2 separate regions of the Homo sapiens genome follow, and region 1 is linked to region 2. The links are contacts of gene promoters, found by promoter capture Hi-C in blood cells and fetal thymus (Javierre and others, 2016). All regions are on one chromosome and are shown on one strand. Each heading gives the region's core, a stretch centred on a gene start or on the middle of the fragment in contact. The rest is flanking DNA. Distances are from core to core; before and after follow the strand shown. Region 1 has its middle 4.8 kb from the start of MIP. Region 2 holds the start of ERBB3 (erb-b2 receptor tyrosine kinase 3).

Region 1 (3,627 bases), core at 767-3,266, 380 kb after region 2:
AGATTGTGCCACTGCACTCCAGCCTGGGCAACAAGAGCGAAACTCAGTCTCAAAAATAAAATAAAATAAAATAAAATAATAGTAATTGTCAAGGTTCTAGTTTTTCTATTGGATGGATGGTTAGAAATGATGCTTAATTATCATTATTAAAAACAAATAAGTGGGAGCCATATATATAGGCCAATGAGGAGAGGATATCATGAACAACAAAATATTCTGTGTACCCCAAATTAATTAAAAACAGCAGTGACAACAATATATGCTTTACCACTTTCTAGTTGGGCAAGTTATCCCCGCTATATATAGGTTCCAGGAGGGCAGGGCCCATGTCTGATTTTTCACCAGTGCGAACCTGGTGCTTAACACACAGAAGGCAGTAAATAAATATTTGCCGAATAGATTAGATTAGCATAAGCTTGCTTGCTTTTTTTTTTTTTTTTTTGAGACAGAGTCTCTCACTCTGGAGTGCAGTGGTGCCATCTCAGCTCACTGCAACCTCCACCTCCTGGGTTCAAGCCTCCCAAATAGCTGGCATTACAGGTGCACGCCACCACACCTGTCTAATTTTTGTATTTTTAGTAGAGACAGGGTTTCACCACGTTGGCCAGGCTGATCTCGAACTCCTGGCCTCAAGTGATCCGCCTGCCGAGGCTTCCCAAAGTGCTGGGATTACAAGCCTGAGTCACTGCACCTGGCCAGATTAGCATAAGCTTTCTGAGTCTCAGTTTCCTCTGTATCAAATAAGATAATGTAGGTAAAGAGACTAGTACAGTGTCTGGCACAGAATAAAGCACTTAAAAACAGGAGCTACCTGCACCTGTAGTCCCAGCAAATCAGGAGGCTGAGGTAGGAGGATCGTTTGAGCTCAGGAGTCAGAGAGCAGCGTGGGCAATATGGCAAAACCCCTCCTGTACAAAAAATACAAAAATTAGCCAGGCACAATGGCACACACCTGTAGTCCCAGCTACTGGGGAGGCTGAGGTGGGAGGATGACTTGAGCCTGGGAGGTAGAGGTTGCAGTGGACTGAGATGGCACCACTGCACTCCAGCCTTGGTGACAGAGTCAGGCCCTGTCTCAAAAAAAATTGAAAATTTGGCTGGGTGCGGTGGCTTACACCTGTAATCCCAGCACTTTGGGAAGCTGAGGTGGGCGGATCATCTGAGGTTGGGAATTCAAGACCAGCCTAGCCAACATGGCAAAACCCCATCTCTACTAAAAATACACAAAAAAATTAGCCAGGCGTCATGGTGTTCACCTGTCATCCCAGCTACTTGGGAGGCTGAGGCAAGAGAATCACTTGAACCCAGGAAGTGGAGGCTGTGGTGAGCTGAGATCACACCACTGCACTCCAGCCTGGGAGACAGAGTGAGACTCCGTCTCAAAAAAAAAAATTATAATTAAAAAATTTAAAAAGTAAACAGAAGCCACTCAATGGGGTTTTATTAACAGGAATGGGTTATCTCTACCCACTAATCCTGTAGCCTCTTATAATAAGAGATGGAACAGCAAAGGGCAGTTAATTCAATCTCTTATAGACGACAAATAAAATGGCTAGCTTTCCTTATCTGCAGCTACCATCCTCTTGCCTCTATTCTTCATCAAACATTGACAAGAATTCCATGGAGAACTAAACCTCGGCCCATTTCCTTTGACATCAGTCTCCCCACTTAGATAAATGCCAGCCTCTTTCAAACCTAACTAGAGATGAACTCTTAAAAGCTTACTTGAGTTTTTGCATAGATTTACATACAATTAGTATGCTTATTGTTTTCTACTAGCCTAGCCTTTTATTTTTATTTTTTTTACAGACATAGTCTCACTGTGTTGCCCAGGCTGGAGTGCAGTGGCGCTATCAAAGGTCATTGCAGTCTTAAACTTCTGGGCTCATGCAATCCTCCCACCTAAGCCCCCTGAGTAGCTGAGACTACAGGCACGTGCCACTGCACCCAGCTTATTTAAAAATTTTTTGTAGAGATGAGGTGTTACTGCGTTGCCCAGGCTGGTCTCAAACTCCTGGCTTCAAGCCAACCTACCGATTCTACCACCTCAGCCTCCCAAAGTGCTGGGATTACAAGCATAACCATAGAACCTGGCCTTTTTTTTTTTTTTTTTTTTTTTTTTTTTTGAGACGGGGTCTTGCTCTGTCTCAAAAAAGGTGAGACTCCAGGCTGGGGTGTAGTGACGCAATCTCCCAGGCTCAAACAATCCTCCCACCACCTCAGCCTCCCAAATAGCTGGGACTACAGGCATGCACCATCACACCTAGCTAATGTTTGTATTTTTTGTAGAGATGGGGTTTTGCCGTGTGACCCAAGCTTATCTTGAACTCTTGGGCTCAAGCAATCTGCCTGCCTTGGCCTCCCAAAGTGCTGGGATTACAGGCGTGAGGCACCTCACCCAGCCTTAGCCTAGCCTTTTTAACAAAAAAACAACAAAAAACAAATACAATCCAGGCGCAGTGGCTCACGCCTGTAATACCAGCCCTTGGGAGGCCGAGGCGAGCGGATCACGAGGTCAGGAGATCGAGACCATCCTGGCTAACACGGTGAAACCCCGTCTCTACTAAAAATACAAAAAATTAGCCGGGCGTGGTGGCAGGCGCCTGTAGTCCCAGCTCCTCGGTAGGCTGAGGCAGGAGAATGGCGTGAACCAGGGAGGCGGAGCTTGCAGTGAGCCGAGATTGCACCACTGCACTCTAGCTTGGGCGACAGAGCAAGACTTCATCTCAAAACAAAAAACAAAAAACAAAAAAAGGCTGTGTCTCCCTTCAGAAGTGGGATGCACCTGTGGTCCCAGTTACTTGGAAGGCTGAGGCGGTGAGCTGTGATGGTGCCACTGCACTCCAGCCTGGGCAACAGAGTGAAACCCTGTCTCAAAACAACACCATAAAATAACCAGGCCTTAGCGTGGTTCACTGAGCCTGTGGAGGTTGAGGCTGCAGTGGGCCATGATTGCACTACTGCACTCCAGCCTGGACCACAGAGTGAGACTCTGTCTTAAAAAACAAAACAAAATAAAAACAAAAACAAAAGAAAAGAAATCTGCCAAGGAAGGTGACTTTGGAGAATTGCCTAGGAATAAGGGGATTTCTGGGGTCTAACCCTCCCGGGTGATGCCAGGACACACTCCAGTTCATCTTCCTCTTTTTTTCTTGTTCACTTGTTCCCCCCTTTGCTATTATTCTACTTCATTCTTGTATTTGGGGTTCTTTTCAGGGGTTGCAAAATGTTTTTAGCTATAGATTCTCCACCTTTCTTTTCTTCTGGCATTAAGTAAGTATACAAATGTTTTTGAAGTTTTTTCCAACAGGGACTATGAAAATGGAGAAAGGATTTGTAAAATAACAAATTTGAGTAATTACAAAGTTATTATAAATCTTAATGGCTCCTAGCAGTAATCACCCTGAATTCTCATTTGTCTCTATACTTAACTGAGTTAGCTCTTGATTACTAATGATCAGTCTTTCAAACTTTAGGACAGTGACAGTGATCCTAGCTTACTCCCCACTTCAATAAGGAAGGCTCCATTGCTTAGTCCCAGAGAGTGCTATACAACCATAATCCATAGTAATAGAGAGCAAGTGGGTCTATATAGCTTAGGAAATCTGCAGGCAGAGCTATTTTTCT
Region 2 (3,693 bases), core at 33-2,532:
AGCATGTTTAAGGAATGTTAGCCGGTAGTCTTTGCTAGGTGTGAGGGGTGAAATTTTTCTTTATCAAGGCTCAACTGTTTTCGAAGTCTTCAGGCTTGAAGTTCTGGAGAAAACAACTAGGCTCTCCGGGCGAGATCCCGAATACCAGTTTAAGGGATTTGAAATGCAAGGCCGTCTGGGACTCCACTGCCACGGATGGGCACCAGGCGGCGCCGGTCGGATCCGTCCCGGGACTAGCAGGGCTTTGGGCAGCAACCCGCAGGGAGCCCGACCGCCTCTGGCCAGGTCCGGGCAGCTGGTGGGGGAGGTTCCAGAGGTCCACGCCATTCGTGGACGCAGTCTCTAGTGTCCTCTCCGCGTCCCACTTCACTGCCCCATCCCCTTTCCTGCGAGAGCCTGGACTTGGAAGGCACCTGGGAGGGTGTAAGCGCCTTGGTGTGTGCCCATCTGGGTCCCCAGAAGAGCGGCGGGAACTGCGGCCGCCCGGACGGTGCGGCCAGACTCCAGTGTGGAAGGGGAGGCAGCTGTTCTCCCAGGCGGCCGTGGGGGGCAGCAGAGGGGACGGCGACAGGTGCGGGAGCCCCTCCCGGGGTAGAAGTGGAAAGGCGGGCTCCGGGGTCTGTTCCCAGGCTGGAAACCACCCCCGCCCCCCATCCAAATCCCCGGGAGAGGCCCGGCCGGCGCCGGGTCTGGAGGAGGAAGCGGCCAGAGACAGTGCAATTTCACGCGGTCTCTGTGGCTCGGGTTCCTGGGCTGGGTGGATGAATTATGGGGTTTCGAGTCTGGGAGAAACTGAGGTGGCCTGGACGTGAGGCAAAAAACACCCTCCCCCTCAAAAACACACAGAGAGAAATATTCACATTCTGAGAGAAAATCCACCAAGTGAACCAACCGGCTAGGGGAGTTGAGTGATTTGGTTAATGGGCGAGGCCAACTTTCAGGGGGCAGGGCTTTGGAGAGCTTTCCACTCCCTCATTCATTACCCTTCCCTGGATCTGGGGGCTTTCGGAATCTCGACCTCCCCTTGGCCTATCTCCTGCAGAAAAATTAGGGTGAGCCCCATCCTCGATCTGCTCCGCCAAGTTGCGGGACCGCGGGGCGTGGCACGCTCGGGGCAGGCGGTCCGAGGCTCCGCAATCCCTACTCCAGCCTCGCGCGGGAGGGGGCGCGGCCGTGACTCACCCCCTTCCCTCTGCGTTCCTCCCTCCCTCTCTCTCTCTCTCTCACACACACACACCCCTCCCCTGCCATCCCTCCCCGGACTCCGGCTCCGGCTCCGATTGCAATTTGCAACCTCCGCTGCCGTCGCCGCAGCAGCCACCAATTCGCCAGCGGTTCAGGTGGCTCTTGCCTCGATGTCCTAGCCTAGGGGCCCCCGGGCCGGACTTGGCTGGGCTCCCTTCACCCTCTGCGGAGTCATGAGGGCGAACGACGCTCTGCAGGTGCTGGGCTTGCTTTTCAGCCTGGCCCGGGGCTCCGAGGTGGGCAACTCTCAGGCAGGTAAGTGGCGCGAGAGCACCGGCGGGCTCGGCACCTGGGAGCCGGAACCCAGTGCGCGCAGCCTCGGAGGGTATGGGCACGGTCTCAGGCGGCGCGGGGTTGTGGGTGCTGCCCCCGGTTTGCCAGGACCACCTGGGAGAGGGGCGGTCAGGCTCGGGTTATCGGCGTGGTCCGGCCGAGGGCGGCATTCCGGGACCCTCACGCCACCCTTCTCCAGAGCGTCGCCGACCCTCTAATTGGTCTCCCCAGAAGAGGCTGAGGCCGAAACAGTAGTTCACACTTCTGAGGGGCCCTGCAGGGAGGGGAGCAGGGAACTTCATTCTGTAAACAGGAGGTGCTTGGAGGTGGGGGCCTTGGCGGGAAGGGTCTCGGTTTGCTCGCCAACCCCCTGCCCCCCACCCGCGCCGATTTCAGCTACCCCTAGTTTCGTTGTTTTGCCGACAGGGCGGAGCTACAGAAGGTTGGAGGGGGTTGTTGTTCTCTGGTGTTGGAAAAACAGGAGCGGCACCTCCTCTTCCGTGAGTGAGCCTGCCCTGGGGAGGTCTGAGATTAACCAGAGGGCCAAGTTCAGGTGACATCAGGCAGGAGGCCCAACAGAGGCTGGCGCCCCCTTTCCTCAGTATAGCAGAGCTTAAGCAACATCTCTTTGTCAAGACCCAGGTCAACACAACTCATATTTATTGAGCATCTACTATACACAAGGCCCTGGGCCAGGAGCTGTAAGGGCAAGGATGTCCAGCCTCTGGTCTTTTCTCTCCCCAACCTGAGGATCAAGAGGGCACCTCTGCTACTTTCTAAGCCTCCTGCCTTGGGGAGTCCTTCCTGGGCTCAGCTTGTGCCTCCCGCCCCCATTTTGCTTATTGTCTGACACTGTCTCTAGGACCCTAGACAGAGCCCCGGATTGCTCTTCTCCAGTCCTCCCCCGACTCCCATGCTATCTGAGCCCACCCCTTTGGGGTGTCTCTGGGACCGTGGACACCTGAGGACTGAAGTTCTGTGGATCTCCTCCCCTCCCCTCAGATCTCAGCTTGGGGTTTGGCACAGCCAGGGCCCCTTCCCCAGTGTGGGAGTGGAAGAAACCACCTGTGCTTCCCTCACAGTTGCTGGGCCTAAATTTAGATCCTGGGATTTTTAGATGTGAACACTCCCAGCTGGTGGAGGGGGGTGGTCTGGGGACTGGCGTGGGAGGGAGCAGTGGAGTGACTGTATAACTGTCCCATCCAGACTCCTGCAATCTTCACCCAGAAACCCAGGAGTACCAGAGTCTGGCCACCCTCCCTGGGGAGGCAGGAGGCAGGCATGGTTGGGTCTCTTTACCCTTTATCTGGGTCCTGCAGCCTCTGGGCATCCGGCCCTGTCTCAGTCCTTCTATAGCCCCTTTGTCCTGGCTGTGATGGGGGTGGGGGATGTTGGAGGGGAGGCCTCTGGTTGAGGAGGGGCTGGAGATTCTGGCTCTATCCCACCCCTAGTGCTCTCTACCAAAGGAGGGCCTGTGACACTGCCCCTCCCTATGCTCCCGGTTCCTGGGTACAGCAGGGATTTTTATGATTCCCTTCCCCTGCCCTGCTCCCCAAGCTGCCTAGCTCCTCCCCAGAGGTGTTGTTTGTGCTCCCTTCCTGCCCAGGCCCTTTGCCCCCTGTTTGTGTAATATGGACTTTACCCTCAGGGTAGCAGGGAACTGGGCTACCTCTAACACTGTAGCCTTCCAAGCACAGACACAAAGTCTGCACAAACACTTATGGGCACGTGGGATAGATGGGGCCACCTGAAATACTTCCTGCAAGGAAACCCAACTATAGATTCCTGAGCCAGCAGGACCAATGTGTACGTGTTCGTGTGTACATTGTGTGTGTATGTGTGTGCCCACACTACTACTTCCCTGTGCAGAAAGCTTGGCTCCTCCCTTATCTGGGGAGAAGTGTTGGCACTATAACTTGGGAAAGGGGGTATCCTGCCAGGAAGGGGATTGGGGTGGGGCTGTTCCAGAAATGACTAACCTTCCTAGTCTCTTTCATTTCAACCCAAGGACCCTGGAGTTCCCAGCTCCTCTGGAACTAGCTCTCTTTGCTGGGACTAGCCAACCTTCATGGGGAGTGATAAGGAGCCCTCCAAGGTCAAGAAGTCAGACTAGGGGTGTATGTTATAGGAGGGATTGGGGCCTCACCAGTCTCCCTCCCTCCATTCCCACTGTTG

Evidence for each region. Contacts are between HindIII fragments. The CHiCAGO score rates a contact against its expected background, and 5 or more counts as called.
Region 1: a fragment that was not itself captured here is called in contact with the fragment with the promoter of ERBB3 in region 2 in 1 of 17 cell types (naive CD8 T cells); the score reaches 5.2 in naive CD8 T cells.

The regions. Positions count from the first base shown.
Region 1 is chr12:56,457,667-56,461,293 of GRCh38, forward strand. No RefSeq gene overlaps it. Among named protein-coding and RNA genes, the nearest start is that of MIP, 4.8 kb to the left of the region's middle. The HindIII fragment of the contact is 596 bases long and covers 1,719-2,314 here.
Region 2 is chr12:56,078,883-56,082,575 of GRCh38, forward strand. ERBB3 (erb-b2 receptor tyrosine kinase 3) reads left to right here and starts at 1,283. Exons shown (of 28, transcript NM_001982.4): 1 at 1,283-1,500. The coding sequence starts at 1,419. RefSeq lists an enhancer at 940-1,930. The HindIII fragment of the contact is 9,077 bases long and covers 1-3,389 here.